Linked DNA regions of Homo sapiens: regions 2, 3, 4, 5, 6 and 7 are each linked to region 1. The links are contacts of gene promoters, found by promoter capture Hi-C in blood cells and fetal thymus (Javierre and others, 2016). All regions are on one chromosome and are shown on one strand. The core of a region is centred on a gene start or on the middle of the fragment in contact, and the rest is flanking DNA. Distances in the headings are between cores, read along the strand shown.

The links. The method cuts DNA at HindIII sites, captures the fragments that hold promoters and counts their contacts. A CHiCAGO score of 5 or more calls a contact.
Region 2: a contact is called between a fragment that was not itself captured here and the fragment with the promoter of THAP5 in region 1, in 9 of 17 cell types (total CD4 T cells, fetal thymus, naive CD8 T cells and 6 more). The highest score is 25.0, in total CD4 T cells.
Region 3: a fragment that was not itself captured here is called in contact with the fragment with the promoter of THAP5 in region 1 in 1 of 17 cell types (total CD4 T cells); the score reaches 13.2 in total CD4 T cells.
Region 4: a contact is called between a fragment that was not itself captured here and the fragment with the promoter of THAP5 in region 1, in 2 of 17 cell types (M2 macrophages and total CD4 T cells). The highest score is 5.8, in M2 macrophages.
Region 5: a fragment that was not itself captured here is called in contact with the fragment with the promoter of THAP5 in region 1 in 5 of 17 cell types (total CD8 T cells, non-activated CD4 T cells, activated CD4 T cells and 2 more); the score reaches 10.6 in total CD8 T cells.
Region 6: a fragment that was not itself captured here is called in contact with the fragment with the promoter of THAP5 in region 1 in 8 of 17 cell types (non-activated CD4 T cells, activated CD4 T cells, total CD8 T cells and 5 more); the score reaches 22.2 in non-activated CD4 T cells.
Region 7: a contact is called between a fragment that was not itself captured here and the fragment with the promoter of THAP5 in region 1, in 1 of 17 cell types (M0 macrophages). The highest score is 5.7, in M0 macrophages.

The regions. Positions count from the first base shown.
Region 1 is chr7:108,568,034-108,571,608 of GRCh38, forward strand. It overlaps THAP5 (THAP domain containing 5), which reads right to left and starts at 1,673. Exons shown (of 3, transcript NM_001130475.3): 1 at 1,457-1,673. The coding sequence starts at 1,536. DNAJB9 (DnaJ heat shock protein family (Hsp40) member B9) reads left to right here and starts at 1,841. Exons shown (of 3, transcript NM_012328.3): 1 at 1,841-2,070. RefSeq lists enhancers at 1,256-1,735, 1,269-1,996. The HindIII fragment of the contact is 6,219 bases long and covers 730-3,575 here.
Region 2 is chr7:112,399,782-112,403,356 of GRCh38, forward strand. No RefSeq gene overlaps it. Among named protein-coding and RNA genes, the nearest start is that of IFRD1, 49 kb to the right of the region's middle. The HindIII fragment of the contact is 2,650 bases long and covers 370-3,019 here.
Region 3 is chr7:112,295,226-112,298,800 of GRCh38, forward strand. It overlaps ZNF277 (zinc finger protein 277), which reads left to right. Exons shown (of 12, transcript NM_021994.3): 3 at 644-732; 4 at 1,004-1,086. Among named protein-coding and RNA genes, the nearest start is that of ZNF277-AS1, 54 kb to the right of the region's middle. The HindIII fragment of the contact is 3,721 bases long and covers 1-3,575 here.
Region 4 is chr7:112,270,804-112,274,378 of GRCh38, forward strand. The region is part of intron 1 of ZNF277 (zinc finger protein 277); the gene reads left to right. Among named protein-coding and RNA genes, the nearest start is that of ZNF277, 66 kb to the left of the region's middle. The HindIII fragment of the contact is 7,429 bases long and covers 1-3,575 here.
Region 5 is chr7:112,221,346-112,224,920 of GRCh38, forward strand. The region is part of intron 1 of ZNF277 (zinc finger protein 277); the gene reads left to right. Among named protein-coding and RNA genes, the nearest start is that of ZNF277, 16 kb to the left of the region's middle. The HindIII fragment of the contact is 2,072 bases long and covers 991-3,062 here.
Region 6 is chr7:112,198,214-112,201,788 of GRCh38, forward strand. The region is part of intron 1 of DOCK4 (dedicator of cytokinesis 4); the gene reads right to left. Among named protein-coding and RNA genes, the nearest start is that of DOCK4, 6.4 kb to the right of the region's middle. The HindIII fragment of the contact is 3,251 bases long and covers 3-3,253 here.
Region 7 is chr7:111,781,575-111,785,149 of GRCh38, forward strand. It overlaps DOCK4 (dedicator of cytokinesis 4), which reads right to left. Exons shown (of 53, transcript NM_001363540.2): 33 at 2,523-2,549; 34 at 2,283-2,378; 35 at 1,290-1,350. Among named protein-coding and RNA genes, the nearest start is that of DOCK4-AS1, 25 kb to the right of the region's middle. The HindIII fragment of the contact is 3,714 bases long and covers 1-3,424 here.

The DNA of each region.
Region 1 (3,575 bases), core at 423-2,922:
TTGCTACAAACATTCTCAGAGATAGAGCCATTAGTACAGTAGTATTTCCCTATAAACTGAAAGTGGATTAGATTGTTTTCCTCCCCCAAACATCTCTTTGCATCTTGAGGCTGGGCTTCAAGGGAGACAATCCTGGAAATATTGCCATGGATTGTGAATTACTTGGGGTTATCAGTTTTTTTTTCTTTTGAGACGGAGTTTCGCTCTTGTTGCTCAGGCTGTGGTGCAATGGTGTGATCTCGGCTCACCTCAACCTCCACCTCCCAGGTTCAAGCGATTCACCTGCCTCAGCCTCCCGAGCAGCTGAGATCACAGGCATGCGCCGCCACGCGCAGCTAATTTTGTATTTTTAGTACAGACGGGGTTTCTCCATGTTGGTCAGGCTGGTCTCAGACTGCCGACCTCAGGTGATCTGCCCGCCTCAGCCTCCCAAAGTGCTGGGATTACAGGCGTGAGCCACCGCGCCTGGTGGGGTTATCAATTTTTTTTCCATTAATTAAAATACTGGAAAGCAGCCGAATCATTAATGAATAAGTCCTTCAGGTCTAAAGTAAAATGAGCACAAAACAACTGCTGAAAATCTGAACCAGGTTAGATCTAAATGAATTGTTTTTAAATACAAGAAAAAATGGAAATGCAGTATTTTAAATATGTTGCTTTTCATGTGTTATTAATCATGTGAGTACTATTAACATCTCCATGTTACAGATGAGATATGTGAGACACCAAAGCTTAAATACTTTCCAAGAGGTCATTAAGCTACAGAATAGTGGAACCAGGATCTAGCATTGAAGCCTGGACCCCTAATTATTATACGACACTGCTTGTCTGTACTTCTGAATAAAAATCAGTGCTTCAGTAGTTTGATGGAAATATATCGTGGCTCTAGTAATTCAGAGTAACAGAATAAAACCTTGTTCTCCGCAGAGTATCTACAGCCCTAAGCAGAAGACTAGTTTATAATTCTGGCTCTGACACTAAACTTTCAAGGTCGGTTACCTAATCATTCCGGGCCTCAGTTTCCTCAGGAGAAAAGTGGGATGAAATTATACCTATGCGACCTACCTCGCGGGGGGTGTAAATTAACTTTGCGTGCACCTTTCCACTTCGCAGGTTTCACGTATCTTAAATGGTGGTTAATGTTGTTCAATGAAATGAGATCACGTGAAGTGGGGAAAAGACTGAAAACCACAGAAGCCCGCGCAAACTTTACTGTTTTAACTGTTAACACCCAAACAGGCTCCTGGGCCTCGCCACCAGCCAGCAGTCCTCGCGCAAGAAGGGCATTGCTAGCTAAACTGAACTAGCGCCTTCCCTCCGTCTTGCCGCGGGCGACGGGCCACGTACGGAGAGCTGAGGACTCACTGGCAGAGCGGACAGGAGACACCCAAGCCCAAAGGCCACAGGTCCAAGGCCTCACGGCGAGGCTGACGCTTCTGCTCCAGAAACAACTTACGGATAAAAACTCAGCTTCCGGTCTTTATTGTTTCGTCCCCGGCGGTTCTTACAACAAATCGCTGCGCAATAGCGGGGCATGACTCGGGTGAGGCCCCTGGAGACCGGGGCCGGCGACGGATGCAGGGCGGCCCTCCTCACTGAGGATGCGCCACAGGTCCAGGCCTCTCGAGCCCCTGCGCCTGCGCTAGCATTCTGCCGGGAAAGCCGCCTCGTCTGTCGACTCACTTCCGCCTCCTCCGGTTTAAGCACCGCCTTTTCGGGGGTTGAAGCCGGAAGTGGCGCACAGCCCTAGCAGCAACAACAGTTTTCCACGTGCGCGTAGGGCGCCGGGATCACGTGGGGAGGCAGAAGCCAATGGGGAAGCGTTTCGTGTAGGTCTTCTGAGGTGGTGGCGCCAGCGGCTACCTCCTGCCTGTGAGGAGCTGGCTGAGAGGGGACTGGGCGCCGGCGGGGAAGGAGGAGCGCTAGGTCGGTGTACGACCGAGATTAGGGTGCGTGCCAGCTCCGGGAGGCCGCGGTGAGGGGCCGGGCCCAAGCTGCCGACCCGAGCCGATCGTCAGGGTCGCCAGCGCCTCAGCTCTGTGGAGGAGCAGCAGTAGTCGGAGGGTGCAGGTGAGGGACGAGGCCGGGGTCGTGGGGAGGGGAGTTCGGAGGGTCCCCGTAGCCCAGGCCTGTCTTTGTGAGCTGACTTGGCCTCGGTGTCCGCCACGGTCGCCGCAGGGACAATGGGCTGCATGTTTTTGGCCGAGAGAATGGAAGAACGGAGACAGCCGCATCACAGAATCGTGTTTTGGGTTGTGGCGCCGGCTTTCACGGGCGCCGGATTAGAGCCCGGGTCTCGGGCAGCTTCTGCGGCGGGGCCTGGGCGGGCAGGGAAAGTGCCAGTCGCCTTTAGGTGAAGGTTGGAGGGTCTAGCCCAGCCGCCCACCGAGGCTGGGGAATAAGGCACGGGCTGCTGGCTGGCGGGGCCGTCTTGGGGATGAGAAGTCTGTACAATACAAAACTAGTCTGCTAAAAAAAAATCATTAGATGTCCACCTTGAGACCGTGGAATAACGTCTGCTGAACCAGTGAGGCGCCTCCCTGTCAGTTTTAGATCCGCCCTTTGACTAGGGAGCAACCTGCAGTTGACGCAGCGTCCATGGGACACACTGTTGTGTTCCTTAAACCGAGAAGTGGTTCTTGATTCTTGGTACCCGTGACTACGAGTAACTCTCTGGAAATAAGTAATCTACCTGCCTGCTAATTACTCTCAGGAAAGGCCGCTGGAGAGGAAGCCAGGCAATTTCCACAAACCGTAGTGTTTTTCGTCAGCCTTATTATGGCATTATAGGTTACTAAGGACTCTGGTGGTCCCGTATTCAAAAAACAGGATCCATCCCTTCGTTTTGAATCTCAAGTCATTGAATACATATTGTCAAGAATTCTAAGTTAACATTTCTTTAATGGTTTAAAGGTAAAAGAAATATTTTAACTACTGAGTTTGTGAAAGTAAGAATCTGCCTTAACCACAGTACAAACTATCAAAGTTCATTTTTCTGGCAGCTTTAGCAGAAATCTTAAATTCTGTTCATCATGAGTTTTAAACAATATTTAGCCATGCTTCCTGGTTAAACATTTGGGATCTTACATTTGGGAAAAAGACAACATTCTATTGTATTGTCAGTATTAGTATTGTGATATTAAGATTCTCTATTTGCAGTCCTTGGCTCACCTGCTGAAATGAAAGCTGAATTTTTGGAGCGAGATTAATAATACTAATTTAGATATACTGGGCTATTTACCTTGGTGCGCCACCTTTTTTTTTTAATGTTTTTTTTTTCTGTGAAGTTAAATACATTATTACTTTCAGGATATGAAGTCTTGAAAGGAAAGTTGGGATCTTATATTATTTGGTTTTCTTTTTTTTTCTTACAATGCTTGCATATGATGAATCTTCAATATAAACTGGTTAAAAGTCAGTTATTGATAATTTTCTATCTCCTCTGTGTATGGCCAGAGTATTAGTAGACAGACAAAGCCAAGAATTATTTTTGTTCTCAATAAGGTTAAGCCAGTTTGAGAGTTATAAAACTAAAAGTGAAATTACATGTGGACAGGTAATAGATACTGTATGCT
Region 2 (3,575 bases), core at 445-2,944, 3.8 Mb after region 1:
AAGTTGGGACACTGCTAGTGGTCTTTCCCCAAACACATTATTTTGTAATCTGTTTTCTTACTCATACAAACATTTTCTTTTTTTTCTCCCAACTAATTTTGATGACTCCTTGCTGGTCATAGTCAATCTGTAATATTCTTCCATGTGCACTATCTCTCCTAACCCAAAGCACCTAAGAAAAATATCAGATGATATCAAAGATCCCATACATGGCTAACACAGTTCAGGAGGATTCTTTAAGCCAACTTAGCTAATCCACAAATTTTACAACATTAGAGCCAAAAGGACCCATAAAGAACATCTAGTCCAAGGAATGGAGCAGCAACAGATCAAGGCTAGTATTTCAGCAAAGTGCAGCCTAGCTACAAAAGCTTGCCTCTTGCAGCTAGTCCTGACTCTCTGTGATTTAGAAATACTAGAGTATGTTTGATTCATAGGCACATTTTACATCCTGCTTTAGGCAGATATGAATGTGCACATGCTACCCCTGGCTACACATCAATTTCCAGACAGGAATAAACTACGTACTGCTTCTTTTTCTAGGAGGCGTATGATGCTGTGGTGAATGGGGCCATAAATTTCTGCAGGAGATGAACATTCCACAGTCAGGACTCATTACCATGTCATTGGACTGCCTTTTCCCTTAACAAATATGATCAGTTTTGTTTATGGTGTTGGTAGGAAAGGTAGCCATTGGCTCAGAGAATGTAGCTCATTAAGCCAGATTAAAGCAACTAAAAAAAATTTTCTTAAGCAGTGTGGAATAGAAACAATCTCAAATTCCAGCCTAGGGTAGGTTGGGAAGGCAGTAGGATAGTAGGATTTTTCTCATTATGATGGAATGATTTACTTTTTATGTAGGCATTTCACAGTTTAGGAGGTTAACAACTACTCTGAGGCAAATTGTTCTAGAGTTATCAAACTCTGTCCTATGTGCAAGGCAGAGTGTAGCATGGTGAAAGGGGCTTATAATAACAAGCACACAAGATTTTTGGAAAGAAATGAAACTATGAATGACAAATAGTATAATATTATAAACTTTAAACTGTCTACCAATGTTATTTTCATCATCATCTTCTTTGTCTCATGGCTTCAGCATAGATGTTATTTAGAGTTTTATATGTATATATAAAGAGTTATATATATATATAAAGAGTTATATATATATATATATATATAAAGAGTTATATATACATATTAGTCTGATATAATTATTAGGTCCCAGGGAGCCCTAGGTTATTAGTCCCCAAAGATCTATCTTAGCCAGATAGTCAAAGGGTTGTGTACAGCTCTTTCAGTGGGAGAATTAGTAAGTCATCATGTAATTCTAACATTTGTGTGGGCAGAAAGTTGTTTAACTTGAACCTGGTATCCACAATTAAAGATGCTACTCTGGAACACTTTTCAAAGAACCTAATAATTCTCCAAGATTACAAAATGGTAACAAGAGTTGGATACTGCAGGTGTTACTTTGGTTCCTGGTAAATCTAACCTCTGTGTCAGACCGTTCATTGGAGACAGTGGTTGAATAATTCATGGTGCCAGATTTTCAATCTCCATGTAATAGCTTGCCACATGTTGGTCTGTTGGCTGATCCGTAAAAATACATAGTGCACAAAGTAGCAAGTAGAATTATTTTCCCCTATATTATGTGGAAAGAGTCATCAATATTTTTTCATGAATAAGTATTTAAACTACTGAATAATAGCTATATTAGTTATGTATTGCTGTGTAATAAATTACCCTAACCCTTAGAGGCTTAAAATAATTCCTATGAATCAGGAATCCAAGCACAGCTCAGTTGAGTGCCTCTGGCTCAAAGTATCTCTCAAGGTTACAATCAAGCTATCAACTGGGGCTGTGGTCTTATCTAACAGCTCAACTGGTAGTGACATTGGGGTCTGCTCCGAAGATCACTCATGTGGTTGTTTGCAGCCCTCAATTTCTTGCCAGTTGGGTTTTTCCATAGGGCTGACCCATGACATGGCAGCTGACTTTCCATACACCCAGTGATAAGAGAGAAAAAGAGACAGAGAGAGAAAGAGAGAGGAGAAGGAGGAGAGGAGAGAAGTCAAATAGAAGCCAGTCTTTTTTATGACTTAATCTCAAAAGTGACATGTTATAATTTTTGCCATATTCTTTTTTTTTTTTGAGACTGAGTCTCGCTCTGTCACCCAGGCTGGAGTGCAGTGGCACAATCTTGGCTCACTACAGCCTCTGCCTCTGGGTTTCAAGCGATTCTCCTACTTCAGCCTCTGAGTAGCCATGATAACAGGCACATGCCACCATGCCCGGCTAATTTTTGTATTTTTAGTAGAGAAGGGGTTTCACCATGCCACCTGCTTCGGCCTCCCAAAGTGCTGGGATTACAGGCTTGAGCCACTGCAGCCAGCCTCTGCCATATTCTATTCATTAGAAGTGAGCCAATAAGTCCAGCCCACACTCAAAGAAGGTATTACAGAAGGGCATGAATATCAGGCAGCAAGGATCATTAGGAGTTATCATAAACACTTCTTACAACAATGGTATTGGAGTTTTATATTTTGGAAATGATCATTTGGCAGATGGTCTTGGTTATAATAAATTATTTTGTTTTTACATAGCAGCTAATATCAGATTGTTAACAAAGTGAGACCCTGTGAGTTTAGAAATTTGGTGATAATATCCTAGAAAATGCTTAGTATCAGGTCAGGCTTTATGACCTACTTGCAGGTACTGATCCTATAAAATCTACATACTATTTTCATAGGTTCAATGTATTTCATCTAGTAGACTCTCTTTCAGTGAATTAAATAGTAAACTAATTTCTGCTTCTCCGAATTCTTTAAACTAATGAACAGAAAGTCAATTTTACAGGTGAGAATTGAGTTTATTGTTTATTTGGCAAAATTGGGCTGTTATACATACCTTCTAAAATGTAAGAGATGTGTGTATGACTTTAATCTCTAGGAGTTTATATCAATTCATAGAAGATATGCTTTGCTAAAACCAATGAATATTATTTTCTTTATGCCTGTAAAGCTTCACTTAATATTTCTTTTATAAATTCACTGGCAATGAATTCTCTTAGCTTTTCATTATCTGATATTCTCTTTGGGTAAATGATTCTAGCTTGAAAGTTTATTCTGTCAGTACTCTAAAGATACTGTTCCAGCCTCTTCCAGCTTACATGATTTCTGGTTAGAAGTTTGCTGTCATTTTTATCTTTGTTCTTTGTACATAATGTTCTATAATTTGTCTTGGCATTATTTTCTGAATTTATGTTTTGCTTGGGGTTTGTGGAGATTCTGTGAGTTTACAGTTTTCATCAAATTCGGAAAAAATTTGATCATCGTATCATCAAATATCCCCGTATTTTTTCTAACATGTGTAATATAAGCCCCAGTTACACACATGCTAGAATCCCTAATATTGCTCACAGTCACTGATGCTGTGTGTATTTCTTAGTCTTTTTTCTCTCTGTGCTTCATGCATAGTTTTTCTTCTGGTTATAGATAATATTTTCCTGCTTCTTTGCATGCTAATAATTTATGATTGGGGCCGGGCGCGGTGGCTCACACCTGTAATCCCAGCAC
Region 3 (3,575 bases), core at 466-2,965, 3.7 Mb after region 1:
ATCACATATGTAGGTCTGGGTGTTAGGCTTTGGTTTTTAATTTAGCTGGTGTGTTGCTTCTAACTCTGCTCATTAGATACAAGAATTGTAAGTTAGGCTATTTTTCCAAAGTCTAAATTTGCCTCATTTCAGACTCAGTGTAGACATATGGAATTTTTCTGTCTTGTTATATTGATATTGAATTTAGACTGATTTCTCATTGCATTATTCTTCTGACCTCTGTTCTTTTGATACATAAGATAACCACTTAGTTTTCTCTTTACTGCAGAGTGTGTCATAGCCTATTTAATCGTTATTGTATTTTAAAGACACATAAACTTAGGTGTTATTTCAGAAAAATTCATTATCACATAAAAATAATTCATTTTAACTTTCCTATATGTCTGTTTATTGAATTTGGGGATAGTAGAGTTTAGTCATTTTCATGCCCTTACATGGTAATTCCTTTTTATTAAATCTTTATTTGATACTTCTATAATGCTCCACTGCCTTTGTATTCACAAAAAACTGCTAGAAAAGCAGTTTTAAGTTAACATTTGATTTGTTGCTTTGGGATGAGTGAATGTGCTTATAGATTCCTGTCATTCTAAAGCAAATAGTATATTGAATCTTCTCATCGTTCCTTATTTTATGTTGTTCTAAGGTACATTTTATATTGGAGGAAAAGGTTCACTGAACAGCCCATCACAGATTTTTGTAGTGTAATAAGAATTAATTCCACTGCTCCATTTGGTAAGTGTACATCTTGGCTACCATCTTTTCCCTACAGTATAAAAATTCAAAGGAATAATCTTACTGTCTTATATTAGAATTACTTTTACTTTCATGATAGATAAAATTAAATTGATGTGTTTATTTTGCCTAACTTGAATAAAGCTAAAACAGTTCTATGCCAAAGAGATCCTAATAGACACACACATCTGTATTTTTTAAGAAATAAGTCCTTCTGGGGAAAAAATGGTTAATATCTGTTTTCTTATTTGTTTTCCTAATCTCTCAACAGAAGAACAAGAGAATTATTTTTTGTTATGTGACGTTTTACCAGAAGATAGAATTCTTAGAGAAGAGCTTCAGAAACAGAGACTGGTAAGAATTGTTTTTAAAGGGTGAATAGTGTCTTGAAAATACATATAAATACATATAAAATCATATTGGTTTTTTTTTTTTTTACTTTTTGTTATGGAAACTTTCAAACATATGTAAAAGAGGAGACAATACAAAAAGGTCTTAAAACAAAAAAAAAGTATACACTTGACTGAAAATTAAAGCGTTTTATGTTAAAAATGCAGAGAGAATTTTTGGCTTTGTTTTGCTTCCTGGATTATCTCTAAAATAACAACAGAACTTACACATTTTAGTGTAATTTTAGCTGCCTGACACATGCTAGGGTTCAGTAGTCATGGAAAAATGCCCTCAGCTAAAATTGAGTTGAATTGATTAACCTTTTTTTCTCCCCTTTACTGGAATGTGCTATGCACTAGCATTTTTTTTATTTCCCTTTATGAATTAAGCATATGGTTTAATCTACATAGTAGCCTTTCTGGTTTTCAGGCTTAACCATAAGCAAGCTAATTTGAAAACCTCAGCATCTTTAGCCTTTAAAAAAGATAACAGCACATACAAGCATGAAAATTTTTATTTTATTTTATTTTCTTATTTTTATTTTATTTATTTATTTATTTATTTATTTTTTTTTTTTTTTTTTTTTTTTTTTTTTTTTGAGATGGAGTCTCGCTCTGTTGCCCAGGCTGGAGTGCAGTGGTGTGATCTCAGCTCACTGCAAGCTCCACCTCCTGGGCTCACACCATTCTCCTGCCTCAGCCTCCCGAGTAGCTGGGACTACAGGCACCTGCCACCACACCTGGCTAATTTTTTGTATTTTTAGTAGAGATGGGGTTTCACCGTATTAGCAAGGATGGTCTCGATCTCCTGACCTCATGATCTGCCCACCTCAGTCTCCCAAAGTGCTGAGATTACAGGCGGGAGCCACTGCACCCGGCTGAAAATTTTTATTTTCGTAAGTTAATCAGAAAGTAATTTTTTAAATTGTTACTTTTGTTTAAAAGTACATGGGTTCCCATTATTTGTGATTTAATCTCGACTATTACTTGAAGTTGACTTGCTGTTCCTTTAGTGATTTCTTGTAAGTCTTTCTTTTATCTTTGGACTTAGCTAAATATGTTATAAGAGAGAGAAATGATTTAAATATTTGTGCTATATCCTCAAGAGATCAAGGAGAAAAATAAATGCTATTTACCATAGTCATATAATTTAAGAAAGTCCCTGGAAGCATATTTTATTTTGTAGACATCCCAAATGATTATTTCTTCCAGTAGGGGAAGGTGATACCATTGGATGTTGATTTATATCTAAGAAAAGTTTTCCTGTACAACAACTGCAGTAAAGAAATAGGACTTCCTGAGTTTCTCTTCTCTCCTTATAGCAGTGTCTTATGAAATCTGCAAAACAAGGCTAAATTTACTATCATGTCTTATGGATGTTATTTGCGTGCACTTATTCATAATTTCCAATTTACATGAATTTTCTCACTGTTGCTAACAGTGGCCTTAAGAATGATCAAAAGATGTCATGATCCTAGTAGTCCTAAGGATTTATTTATAAGAACTCAAACCCTACTACTTCAGCCATTCTTGTTCTTTAGCATGCAGAATCTGTACGATGTGTCTGCAGATGGACTCAGGTCTCTAAAAATACCTACATATACTGCATTTAAGTTACCTTTTTTACTTTACAGTTTGATAGTGATACATTTAATGGAAGTGAGCATTATGCCAGCTTACAGAAACAAAAGAAGAATGAAAAGGCAATCAATCCATACATGCTCGTTGAATTTCTGCTTAAGTAGATGCCTATACAAAGAAGTACAAGAGTACAAGGCATAATCCATATCATACAAGAGTGTACGGTCTACTTAGAGAAGAAAGATAAATATGTATTCTTATCTTGGTAATAGAGATAATGATAAAATATCTTGCAGGGCTTATGAAGATTAAGTGACATGTAATATACTTAGAACACTACCTGGCACATAGAAGGCACTTAATAAATATTAGCCAATAAAAATAACAGTAATAATGCTGTGTCTTAACAATGAGAAGGATTTGGATAGTTAAGAGAGTTGTAGGGAAGGGAAGAAAGATACATATGCATCTAAATGTTCAAGGTGTATTCAGGAAAATCGAGTAAAAGTCTACTCCGGCTTAGATAGAAAAATTTTTATGGGGAGGAGTATGAGATAAATTTGAAGAGGTAAAATGGAGCTAAATTGTGGAAATCCTTCAGTGCCAGAAACTTGACTTTGTAGTAATAAAGACCCATTAATGTGCCCTCATTGTCCATCAGTGACATGAAGAAAAGAGTAAATGTAGCTGCGTATAAATCCATTTCAAGCTGTCAAAGCCTGAGAAAGACTAGACCAACTTGGGGATTGGAAGTAAGCTAACAATGACTGATGACCATCCATAAGCCATGCCTTGTATTTGGTTCTTGCTTCATAGCACCCTGTGAGGTGGCTATTAAATGCCGTTCTATTTATGAGTAAAATGTGGCCTAGG
Region 4 (3,575 bases), core at 656-3,155, 3.7 Mb after region 1:
GTTATAAAATTGATCATATCAAGTTTTCATTAGAACAGTGGTTTGTGCTTTCACATAAAGCATATCTCTGTCTAAGCAGCTGGGAGTAGCAAAAAATAAAATAAAAATAAAAATAAAATAAAATACAAAACATATCCCAGCCATACATTAGAATCTCTGTGTAAAAAAATCAGCATATTTTCAAAGCTCCCAAGTTGATTCATACATACTGTTAGGATTGAGAATTGTTGCCTGAAAGTAAAAATAATGGTATTCATTAGGATGTCATTTTCAGTAAAGTTCCATTTAGACATTCCATTGAAGCTAGTGCTAATCAGATTAACTGCTGGCAGAATTCATTGTTAATTGTTATGAGTAATTTGCAACATGTACCATTTATGTAAACTAGACAACCTATTCTTTCAGAGATACGAGATTTCTATCACCTTTTGGATTTATTTTTGTTATGTAAAACAGGAAATTTAATACCGTATCCAAAATGCTAGGAATAAAATCTGTTGTGTCTTGTTTTATTGTCCAGCATCATTTTATTCCCTCATCCTTCCTCTTTGAAGTCAAGTGATCTTTCTGATGTGGTCACATATTTGTAGAGGATTCTGTTACATCATGGAGATGGGATTTATGATACTTAATGTCACTGAGAACATAGAGTAATTGTCAGTAGACAAATAAATTGGAGAATTATATTTTTTAAGTGTCCTGAACATGACTGAATCTCAGGTGTTTTGCAGGAGCTTTAAAAGACTGCTTATAACTACATTTTTTAAAAGCAGCCCAAATCCTGATGGGTCCAAGTAACTTGAAGAAAAAGGATTTATTAAATACTTCAAAGTAAGGCCAAACCACCTGCCTTAGCAGGCAGGCATGTAACTGGAAATGGAGGACATGAATCTAGTGATTTAGTATCTTACTTGCTAGATATGGGCTATCTTAAAATTATACTTGGTTCTTTTTTTCTCCTCTGATGCTTCTGACATTCTTTTTTTTTTAATTTTAAGAAAGTTTTTATGGGTACATACTAGGTGTAGGTATTTATGGGATAAATGAGATATTTGGATACACACATACAGTGCATAATAATCACATCAGGATAAATGGAATATCCATTACCTCAAGAATTTATCCTTTATTTGTCTTACAAACATTCTAATTTTACTTTTAGTGATTTTTAAATGTACAGTACATTGTTACACAGTATCATCACTTTGTTGTACTGTGAAATACTAGCTCTTATTTAATCTAACTATAATTATACCCATTGACCATACTCCCTTCCCCCTACCCCCTACTAGCCAGCCTCTAGTAACTATCCTATTTTCTATCTCCATGAGCTCAATTGTTTTAATTTTTAGCTCCCACAAATAAGGGAGAACATGCAAAGTTTGTCATTTTGTTCCCGGCTGATTTCACTTAACATAATAACCTCCAGTTCCATCCACATTGTTGCAGATGACAAGATCTCATTCTTTTTTATGGCAGAATAGTACTCTACTGTGTATACCACATTTTCTTTATTCCTTCATTGACAGACACTTACGTTGCTTCCAAATTTTAACTATTTTGAACAGTGCTGCAACAAACAGCAGATATCTCTTCAATATACTGATTTCCTTTATTTGGGGTATATACTTAGCAGTGGGATTGCTGGATCACATAGTAGTTCTATTTTTAGTTGTTTTTGTTTGTTTGTTTCTTTGTTTATTTTTTCGAGACAGAGTCTTCCTCTGTCGCCCAGGCTGGAGTGCAATGGCACAATCTTGGCTCACTTCAGCCTCTGCCTCCCAGATTCAAACGATTCTCCTCCCTCAGCCTCCTGAGTAGCTGGGATTATAGGCACACACCATCATGCCTGGCTAATTTTTGTATTTTTAGTAGTGACGGGGTTTCACCATGTTGGCCAGGCTGGTCTCAAACTCCTGACCTCAAGTGATCCGCCCACCTCGGACTTCCAAAGTGCTGGGATAACAGGCGTGAGCCACTGTACCCGGCCTTATTTTTAGTATTTTGAGAAACCATCATACTGTTCTCCATAGTGACTATACTAATTTGTGTTCCCACCAACAGTATATGAGGATTCCCTTTTCTACACATTTTCACCAGGATTTGTTATTTTCTGTCTTTTGGGTAAAAGCCATTTTAACTGGGGTGAGATGATATTCATTGTAGTTTTGATTTGCATTTCTCTGATTATCAGTGATGTTGAGCAACTTTTCATATGCCTGTTTGCCAGGGGTGGCACAAGCACTTCCTTAGACACCGTGGCTGGTGTCTCACTGGGTCACATGCTCCCCACATCCGCTGGCTCTGAGCCTAGCACAGCACAGAGACTTGCCCAGTAATTGCAGTCCTTGTGGCTGAGTGCCTTTCAAATTTATTTGCGACCCAAGTGCACTTTAGCCCGTGGTTTGCTGGAACTCAGGTTGTGACCGCTGGCATGGGTGATTCCCCTCTGACTAGGGATGGTCTAAATGCTCTCTCCATGTGCACCTGCCGAGTTCTGCCTGGTGTTGCTTTCTGCTGTGACAGGGCAACACTGAGTTCCAATGCAAAGTCGCACAATCACTGCACTCTCCCTCCACCAAACATACAGATTCTCTCTCCAGGCCACATGGCCACTGCTGGGGGATGGGGGAAGGGTGACATGAGCAATTCAAGACTGTCTTTCCTACCTTCTTCAGTGCCTCTTTCAGGGATATGAAGTTAAAACCAGGTACTGTGACTGCTCACCTGATTTTTGGTTCTTATGAAGGTGCATTCTTTTGTGTGTGGATAGTTTTTCAATTTGGTGTTCCTGCCAGGAAGATTACCGGTCAAGGCTTCTATTCAACCATCTTGCTCCCTGACATTCTAAAGTTGTGTTAGGTGTGTCTGTGAACATAACCACCCTCTCTGGTGGAAAAGATGTAGATTCTTCTGCACTCCAACCTCGGCAACAGAGCGAGACTCCGTCTAAAAAAAAATGTGGTTATTTGAGGTTAAGGTAGCTCTATTTTTTTTCTTCAATTGCTTGCTCCTCAGTATCTAGCAGAGCCTTTTGCCTGAAAGTGAACTAGAAGGGAGAATTACTTTCTAGGGAAATAAGTTCATAAAACTGTGATGATCAAATGAGTATCAGCTAAGACTTGCCTAATTTAAGAAAGTTTCTATCTCATATACTAGAACTAAAAGACAATTTATTAGTTTTCATTTTCAAATCGAGTCTTGCTTTATAGCAATTATATATTAATATATAGTATGAGATATATATATATATATATCTTGTTAGAAAAGTTTGAGAAATTCACATGTTCAAAAATAAGAATTTAAATGAGTGGTTATATGGTACTTTCAAAAGTTTATTTTTTATTAATTTTCATTTTGCCTTTGTTTTTTGAGATAGGGTTTTGCTCTGTCACCCAGGCTGGCGTGAGGTGACACGATCACAGCTCACTGAAGCCTCAACCTCCCGGGCCCAAGCAATCCTCTCACCTCAGCCTCCCAAGTAGCTGGGACCACAAGTGTGTGCCACCATGCCCAGCTGATTTTTTATTTTTTGTAAAGACTGAGTCTTGCCATGTTACCCAAGCCAGTTTTGA
Region 5 (3,575 bases), core at 777-3,276, 3.7 Mb after region 1:
AGGCTTGCCGCCATCTTGGAAGCAGCCTGCCACCATCTCGGGAGCTCTGGGAGGAAGGACCCCCGGTAACATTATCATATATGGCAGTGGTCCCCAACCTTCTTGGCACCAGGGACTGGTTTCGTGGAAGACAGTTTTTCCACAGACTGGGTTTTGGGATGATCCAAGCACATTACATTTATTATGCACTTTATTTCTATTATTATTAATATTTACCATGATAAAGAATCAGTGGGAGCCCTGAGCTTGTTTTCCTGCAACTAGACAGTCCATCTGGGGGTGATGGGAGACAGTGACAGACCATCAGGCGTTAGATTCTCATAAGGAGTGTGCAACCTAGATCCCTTGCATGCACAGTTCACAGTAGGGTTCACACTCCTATGAGAGTCTAATGCTGACACTAATCTGACAGGAGGCAGAGCTCAGCTTCACTCACATGCAGCTCACCTCCTGCTGTGTGGCCCAGTTCCTAACAGGCCACAAACCAGTACTGGTTGGGGACTCCTGATAAATGGCCTTTATTGTGTTGAGGTAGATTCCTTCTATGCTTTTAATCATGAAGAGATGTTGAATTTTGTTAAAATACTTTCTCCACATCTATGGAGTCATATATTTTTTGTCCTTCATCCTATTAACATGGTTTATCACATTTATAGAGTCATGTATTTTGAGCCATCTTTATATCCCTGAGATGAATTCCACTTGATTTTGGTGAATGATTCTTTCAGTGTGCTGTTGAATTTAGTTTGCAACTATTTTGTTGAGTATTTTGTCTATCAGGGATATTGCCCTGTACTTTTGTTCTCTTGAAGTGTCCTTCTCTGGCTTTGGTATCAGGGTGATTCAGACCTTGTAAAATGAGTTTGGAAGTGGTTCCTCCTCTTCAGTGTTTTGGAAGAGTTTGAGAAGCATTGGTGTTAGTTCATCTTTAAATGTTTGGTAGAATTCAGCGGTGACATCGTTAGGTCTTGGGCTTTTCTTTCATGGGAAAGCTTTTGTTACTGAATTAATCTCCTTACCTGATATTGAGCTGTTCACATTTTCCCTTTCTTCATAATTGAGTCTTGCTAGGTTCTATGTGTATAGAATTTATCCATTTCTTCTAGGTTATCCAATTTATTGCCATATAATTGCTCATAGTACCCTCATGATCCTTTGTATTTCTGTGGTATCAGCTGTGATATCTCCTTCATTTATGATTTAATGTATTTGAGGCTTCTGTCTTTTTTTTCTTAGTTAGCTTAGCTAAGGGTTTGTCAATTTTGTGTATCTTTTCCAGAAATCAACTTTTAGTTGTGTTGATCCTTTCTATTATTTTTCTAGTTGTTACTGTGGGACTGAGTACTGCAAGCCTGCCCTTGGGATATGAATAGGCATGTGTGATGGTTAATACTGAGTGTCAACTTGATTGGATTGAAGGATACAAAGTATTGATCCTGAGCGTGTCTGTGAGGGTGTTGCTAAAGGAGATTAACATTTGAGTCAGTGGGCTGGGAAAGGCAGACCCACCCTTAATCTGGGTGGGTACCATCTGATCAGCTGCCAGCACAGCTAGAATATAAACAGGCAGAAAAATGTGAAAAGAGAGACTGGCGTAGCCTCCCAGCCTGCATCTTTCTACCATGCTGGATGCTTCCTGCCCTCGAACATCGTACTCCAAGTTCTTCAGTTTTGGAACTCGGACTGGTTCTCCTTGCTCTTCAGCCTGCTGATGGCCTATTGTGGGACCTTGTGATTGTGTGAGTTAATACTTAATAAACTCCCCTTTATATGTATATGTTTCATTAGTTCTGTCCCTCTAGAGAACCCTGACTAACGTAGCATGTCTCCCAGCTGATCCCTGGCTAGGCAGCACTACTGTCATTCCACAGCTGATAGAGGCTCGAAGATGAGATTCGGGGCCATTTCAGGATCTGCTGTTGGACTGAGGGTTGCAAGCTGGCCCAGGGGACTCAGAATGGTGTGTCTCCCTCTGTGTCTTTGTTCCAGGAACACTGATCTAGGACTGTAGCTGAGAAGGCCTGGAGCCAAGTTAAAGGATCCTTTTAGGGTCCACAGCAGAGACTGAGGTCAACAGGTCTGTCTCCCTAGGCACTAGTATGTGTGACTTTTCCCAGTCTCCATGGTGGATAGTTTTGGAAGAGGCCCAAATCCAAATGGGGCTGTAGCCAAGTCCACAGGGAGACAGGGTCATTTCCAAGTCCGGAGCCAAGATCACAGTTCATGAGTCTGCCACCTGGTCGTAGGTTTGCCCTCTCAAAATGACCCTTCTAGGTTTTTAGACTCCACTGGGGTTTTAGAAACTCCTGCCTAAATCCCAAGGCTCCCACAAAGGCGCTTTTGTCCAGGGATGGCTGCAAAATTTTTTGAGAGAAGCAGGGATATAAGCAGAGGACCTCCTATTCCACTGTCTTGCCGACCCAGAATTCTCTGGTTAGAATTTTTTAAACTAGGTATTACAGACAACCATAGTCACAGGAAGGCTTTCAGAAGCAATTGGGGTTGCAGTCTTCCTTGTCACATTCAAAAGCAAAGAGCTCTGCCCTTGTTAATAAAGTCAGAGCATAGCTGACTCCTGTAAGGAAATTTCTGGGATTAGAAAAATGTGCTGGGACAGAGCAGGTTGTATATGAAGATTCTGTCTACTTTAATAAGTTGGGTTCTGCTCGGGCACTGTCATTTAGAATGCCCAGATGACTGCAGGCAGAGTATGCCATAGAGATTAGACAGGCATCAGTTAGAATACAGAGAAGTAGAGAGATCTGGTAGCGGGTAGTATTAAAGAAAAACTAGAGCTGGACAGTAAACTGGCAGAAAAAATATTTTATTCAGGAACTCCTACAGTAGAGCAGGGGTGTCCTATCTTTTGGCTTCCCTGGGCCACATTGGAAGAAGAATTGTCTTGGACCACACATAAAATACACTAACACTTACAATAGATAATGAACTTTAAAAAATTGTAAACAAATTTCATAATGTTTTAAGAAAGTTTACAAATTTGTGTTGGACCACATTCAAGGCCGCCCTGGGCTGTGTGTGGCCCACGGGCCAGGGATTGGATAAGCTTGTGAGGAAACAACACCTCAGTATAGAACTGGGCTCAATTCCTAATACAACATGGAAAAGTGGGAATTTATAGTCAAGAAATAGGTTGGAGGGTTTGGGAGATGGAAAATCACTAAGAGGAAGCATCAGGGATAAGGGGGGATTCCTGCTGAAGGCAGGCCAGGGTAATCAGATATCACCTGGGGGATGGCAAGAATTTTTTTCAGCTATTGAGGGTGGTGAGTTATTGAGGACGGGGGATTCTTTCTAAACTGATTTAGCAGGATTCTTGATAAAACTGAACTATGCAGGTCTGGCAAGGACGGGGCCTAGTCAGGAAAAGGGTTCAGAGGAACATGACTAAAATATGGTCAATGAGTCTTTGTTCAGTAGCAAGGACACAGCTACAAGTAAACTGGACTTTAGGGACAGGAGTCAAGTTATTAAAAGTCCTGAAAAAAATTTAGGGCTGGGTGTGGTGGTGGCTCACACCTGCAATCCCAGTATTTTGGGAGGCCAAGGCAGGAGGA
Region 6 (3,575 bases), core at 378-2,877, 3.6 Mb after region 1:
AAAGCTTGCTTCCTTTCCTCCCCATGACCCCTTCCCCCTACCCACGTGAAGATACAGCAAGAAGATGTCCACCTGCAAACCAGGAAGAAGGCCCTCACCAGGAACTGACTCAGCCAACACCTTGATCTTGGACTTCCTAGCCTGCGGAACTGTGAGAAACAAATTTCTTTTGTTTAAACTATCCAGTCTATATTTGTTATAGTATCCTGAGCTAAGACAACATCCTAAACTCCTTCCTTACTTTAACTCCTCATATCTGATGACCAAACCTGTTGCTTTCATTTCCTAAATATCTCTCAGATCTATCCACACTTCACCATGACAATGACTGCTAACCTGATTCATGGACTTATCTCTCACCTCAGTTACTGCAGTGCCTCTCTTTACTCATTTTTATGCCACCTCTTCCTTCATAAATAACAATGTGTAATTTAAAATTCAATACTGCTCATATTTCCAAACAGATTTTTTAAAAAAGAACTTACTGATAATCTATATATTCTAACAAAAAAATTGTTCTCATCTGTGCATCGACTGCCTCTTCTCTATAGGCTACACATTTTATGTAGCTCTAATCATAGTCTATATTTACTCTTCTTTTGTCATTTAACACTAGATACCTGGAATATATTTTTGAAATAGTGTTGTTTATGAAAATATTTCATTTCATGATTGTCTGATGCTCCAACGTGCTCATAACCAAAACTGATTTAACGACTACATGGTCATGTAAGTTGTTTCACAGACAACACGGCAAGGGACAACTCTGTGCATAAAGTGTTTTGTTGCTATTGATTTATTTTGTCACATAAACTTTAAGGGGTGGGATTACTGATTCAAACTTCTGCTAACCACTGTCATACTAGGTAACATGGCGTAATGGCTAAGAGAACAGTTTCTATGCAAGACAATTTAGGTTCCAATCCTAGCTCCACCATTTACAGTATGACCTTAAATAAGTTACTTAATCCCTGTATGACTCAATTTCCTGTGAAATATGAGTGATAACTGAATCCTCCTTCATGAGGTATCATGAAGATTAAATGACAATATAAGACAAGCTCTTAGAACTGTGCTTGACATGTAGCAAGTGCTCCACAAATGCTATTTTATATTGCAGTTTCCAATAAAAGTTATATAAAAGTTTCCAAAAGGATCATGATTACCATACATTCCTCAGGGTACTGCATATCAGTTTTACTGCAGTTACGTTACCAAAGGCATTCCACTTTTTTGATGATTTTTATTTACTTAGTAGTTACCCAATGTCATCTTGGCACAATTTTTTTTAAATGCCAGAGAGTCCAAGAGTTGTTCCTGAAGTAAGTTTAAGTTGCTTAAATGAAGCTAGGCTTGGGGAACTTTAATTCCTTATTTTTTTGTCTTATATACTCTAGCCAAATAAGCATATAGTTCACTTTTTTAATAAAACAAGTTATACAAGTTGCCTTGTCTTTCTAATAATGATCAGCAACATAAAAAAAGGTACAAAAGAATAGTGAGTGGTAAACCTACAACTGGCAAAGTACCTCAGTAAACCATTATCTTTACTCTTCTGTTATAGTGACCAGAGAGTGTTGTCAAAGGACATGATACAGAAGAGTCTAATATTGGTCATTATGTAATCCTTGTCAAAAAGGTCCTGGTAGGAAGACATACAAGTACTAAAAGAGAAAACTTACGCAATGCATGTGATGGCTTTAAATATTTGTTCCATCTTTAATAAGAAATACTACAGAAGACAGACTTTGACTTAGACTGAAGGAAAAAAGGATAATTAAATTCTTTGTTAAAATAAACCCACATATCTGACTATCAAAGACAATAACCACCACCACCATCAACTCCTTGCCAATGTCATGAAAGGAACTTCACAGAAACCCAGTAAGATGTGAGTTGCAGTCCTTCTGGTATCACAAATGTAGCATTTAAAGCAGTGTTTTTCAAACTGTGGGTCAGGACCCATTAACAAGTCAATTTAGTGACAAGTATTTTTTTTAACAAAAAAGAATAGAACATTACATAGAGTATAAGCAAGTGCTGTTTTAATTATATGTGTGTGGGGTGGTACTGGGGGATATTTATATATATACTAGGTCAGGAAATTAACTATATTTCTTATGGGTAATAGTCAAACAAGATTAAAAGCTACTAATCTAGAGTAAGTCACTTAAACTCTATGAAACTGTTTTCTCATCTCTTAAATAGAAATTACCATTCAACTTCAAAGGGTAGACTCAGATAAAATAATTTCACTTTTTAAGTAAAACATTGTATTACTGTGTTACGGTTACAGCCTTTTAGAAGGGTTTCATTAGAGTTTAATGTTCCTCTGATGTATATATTCACAGCATGAAGTCACTGTGATAGAAACATAGACATATTGTATCAAACATAACTCAGAAAATGTTGTCTCCTTTTGGAAAAGAATAGAGCTAGAGATAGGAAATCCTAAATTTCTTGAAATTTGTATAATCTCCCTCGTACTAGCTACCATAACAGCCTCTAAAATAAAAAAAAAAAAACAAAAAAAAACAAGATCATAGAGGAAGAGCAGCATCTCTATGTGGCTTCAGGGGCCTTGTGAAGAACTGTCACTTAGGGGAATGACCAAAAGAGGGGAACATTTTTATAGACCATTCCCATAGGAGGCCAGATCAAGAACATAAGCTGCTATCCCACTGTCTGTATGGCCCTTCGGTGGTATTTTACTGGGAGGTATAAATCATTTCTCTTCTATTCCCACTTAAAGTTTAGAATCCTGTGTCAGGCTCTAAATGTCACAAACAATTCCAAGCAGAACATTATTATTTAGCTTTACATGCTATGTAGATACATCATAGGACCACTAATAGAAAACACTTTAAGAAACTGTTAGCTAAGAAACTACAAAAAACTAAGAGTAAAGGAAACACATCCTTATTACGCTCTATCACACACATACGCTATGATTAAAGCATCTTTCTAAGGAGAAAGACACCTAACTATCCTGTATGAATACGAGAAGGTGCATCTTCTTCCACCAACATAGAAGGGGCTTTAAAAAGGAACATGATTCCTACCCAGATGAGTTCAAAAACTCCTTCAAGAAAAATAGAATACAGGAATTTATGTGATGACTGAGTGATACTCGCACCACACAATTTATTTTTTAAATGACACTGTGACTTCAGATCAGCTTGTTCTGAGTTTTGTTTCTTATAAGGTTCATGGATTTTCTGCACCGATCAATCCAGCCCGTGTTCTCCTGTCAAGCTTAACTAAGCTCACACATGTAAAACATCTGGCTAGGTTTGAGGGGTGCAGCCTTCAGCTCAGGAAGATGCCATGACTCATCTGTGAATCTGTGCATAAAAGCCTGTTGGACAAATGAACGCAAAAACAATCTGCAAAGGTCTTAGCTTTCTCCATGAATAATTCCCACCACTTTAAGGCGGGGTGGGGAGGGGGGAGGAATGGGGGGGTGTGCTAACAGATGAGGACATGCAGGAGGTAGAGGTAATCTGAGGAAATTGGTGAGTATGCGATCAAGAATGCTTTAGTCACCATTCTGTGCGATAGATCACTAAAGCATG
Region 7 (3,575 bases), core at 318-2,817, 3.2 Mb after region 1:
GGATGCTTAGGTCTCACTATTTTTAGGGACTGATATTGGAGGTGGAGATGTAACAATTAGATTAAAAATGTGGAGGAGGCAGTGGGTGTGATAAAGACGGATACCATCATAGGCTCAGAGATGAGAAGCAGTACAGCAAGACATGAGGAAAATAGATGAAAAGACAGTCACAAGAAAGCAGAAGCCCTGAGCTTTGAAGACGAACTGTGACAGGAGTAAACAAAGTAATACAAAACAAAACAAAACAAAAAGAAACTGATGAGCTAAGAAAAGACAAAATCAAAGTAGGGGCAAAAGAATTTCAAGGTGCAAGCAAATAGAGAACTATATGGCATGTGAGGAACTCAAATGATCAGAGTAAGGATAAGAATGACTGTGCAAGAACTTAGAATGTAATAGATGGCGAGGATTCATTTATTCTACAAAATATAAGAAAAAGAAACCATGAGATTCACAAATATAGAACTAGACTTTTCTTGTATTTTATATTTTCCTGTACTTCAGATCTGATTGAAGGAACTTATCCAAAACATTAATTTGACTTACATTAAAATATGACAAATAAACATCTAAATGTAGGGCCACTCCTTTGCTCTGTGGTAAGAATACCATTCTATTTAATAGTTAGTTATGTGACATTTTATATAAATGTTGGCTTGCCCAGGACAGCTTTGGATTAGCCTGTTATCCTTACAGAATGTTTAATTTTACTCTCAAAAATGTCCTGCTTGGTCATCCTAGTTACAAAGCAAACCTTAACAAAAGTGCTATTATGAATTCAATTTGCAAAAAAGCTAGAGTAAAAATTAGGGTGTTAAATAGAAAACTGTCATTTGTTCACAAAAGAAGAGATCACTAATATTTATCAAAATGTGGACTGCATATCACTCTGTGAGAAAGGAAAAGAACAGAAAGAAATTGCTACACAAAGTAGAAAGACCTCTAACAGGGGATACAGTGCTTTTTGCTAGGACAGCAACAAGACTCTAGGAGGGTGAAGTAGTGCAACCGGGGAACCCAATGGCATCACTCTGGGATCCCACACGGGTCTCCTATTAGGGCTGTGGGGAATGCAGGGGATGCACCTTGTAATGTCTGGGACTGAGGATTTCCTGGACTTTAATTTAACCTGCAGCTCACTATGCTTCTCTTAAAAACACTTGTAAATTTAAAAATAACTCTTCTAAGAAACATCACATTGCAGATTAAACACAAACAAAACATAGTATTTCTGGGAAAAAAATACAAGTATTAGGAGAAAAGGAGAAAAAGGGGAATAGTTTACTAACCAGAAGGCTAACTGTGCAGCCAATCTTTTTGCCATCTACCTCTCCCATTTTCATGCAGTCCCTAAAAACAAAAAGCAATAGTCAGAACTCAGAACTTCCTTCCTAGGGGCAAACACAGTTTGTTCTTTTTGGGGGAAAAAAAGAAAGAAAGAAAGAAAAAAAAAAAAAAAGAAGCCACTTTTAGGGACCAGAGGCAATTTGCATTGCAAGCGTTCGTTCATTTAGATACATGTTCCAAGGACTGATAATCTAATCTCTAGGGAATCTGGGGAGTCAGAGACTCCTGAGCATCAGCTTCTGTTAAGAATTTCATTGCCATGTCAAGATTATGCTCCCTCTCAATGGACATGGGCTCAGGAAGTTAGAGGAGTGAAAATGTGTTATTGTACACTTCCTACAGTAGGGTGAGAAGTGGCTGGTAAGCCTGGCCATTAACAATGAGAATGAGGGTTTCATTCCTAAAATAAAACCAAACTACCATGTATTTAAGTGGGATTAACTACTTTAACAGTTTAGATAATATAAAAATAAAAAACATAGGTCTATGGAAGGTGACACTGTGAGTTTCATCTCACCCACGTCCCCTTTTTAAGAGAATATTTAAGAGAATAGCATGATTGTACAATTCTCCATTACATTGTTTTCACCCTAAAATGGATTGGTTCTACTGGTTCTAGGGGCTAAGTCTAAATACCAAAATAAAGATTTTTTTTTTTTTTGAGAACTCTCAGGGACTCCGAGAATCCTCTCAATTCACCAAGACTTTGAAAGAACTATCAAAAAACAAAACAAAGCAACAAAAAACAAACAAAAGCTCAAATTAACAGCTCTGAACCAGCTGGTTAGAAGTTCATTATCTTAGTATACCAGGTTCCATGGTCTGATAATCAATTGAGTGATTCACAAGAGTGGAACGTTGATTGTATTCTATTTGATTTTCTAACTGGAGTTCAGCATGAACTGGAGTTCAGAAAAACATGCGACTTGGCTTACCTGTAATCTAACAACCTCTCCATTAGACGAGTTACAGTAGCAATTAATGAAACGCCACTTTCCCGCCATGTTTCCCGCTCAATTTTCTTTAGTAGACTGGAAAAGAAAGAACCCGGGGCATTTTCAACATTTATTTTTATCAGTCACCATGACAACCACTTTACTTTCATCAGTACCTTAAATGCCTTAGCAACCACTGCAACATCTCACAAGTAGCACAATTTGCAAACAATGTCTTACCTAGGATAGGGACCAAATAGTGGAATTCTAATCCAGGAAGCATTGACAAAGCAAATTGATTTTCAGATTATCCAAGTCATAAAATACAAACACATGCATATAATCATATTTTCAAAATATACAAGCATCTCACAGCTCAAAGACATTTTTTCCTAGCTTCTCCCTTACACTAACAGAGGCTTGCGTCTTACCACATCAAATAACACTGCAAAAAGCAAAAACAGGAGTGCCTCCAAGTTTACTTTTAAGCAAGATCTTGCTTTATTCACATAAAAATATTTTCCTACCTCTCAGTGGAATGCATCTTCATCCAAGCAATTTTACTGCAATGCAACTGCTACAGGAAAATCCTTGTACAGCTGGTATGACGTTTTGCGTTTTTTCCTTTCACTTAACATTTGCCCACTCAATACATATTGTACTATCTGTGCACTCACTCAACAGTTTCATTCATTTTGTCACTAATCACAGAGGATTTTCCATGTGGTTGTTACAGCAGATTGATGACAAGTACTGAACCACATCTCTCCTCCTACATTTCCCCTAATCCTAAGCACCTTGGAGCACAGGTACTATGTAAACACAAAATAATAACAATCATGATAATTACAATCTGTGTCACTTTCACTCCCACCTCTCAGCAAATTAACAGTGTACTTGGCAAAGGCTTTATGATTGAACTTCCCCCAAAAGATAAAAGCAAGAACATTAAGCATGGCAATATGTGGATACTTCCCTACCCCTTGAAATTTAATGATTGCCATTTCTGTCTAAAATCTTATTTGTCTTTCATCTTAGTTTCAGGAATAAGAGAGAAAACATTTCTTACAAGTACAGTCTAAGCATATCATATATGTACTTAGTTCAAAAATAAACATTCAAGAAGAAAGCTGTTTTGTCAAAGCTTTCTCTTGTCTGTGGCTATGTTCTCTCCCAAGTTTTCTCTCCATCATCCCCTACCTCTTTCTCTTGTTATTGGCATTCTAGTGCCCAGCCTTCTGTCTTGTCTCCTCCTGTGTTTCCTGTGCATCCCTCATCCTGTTTTTCTGGTTT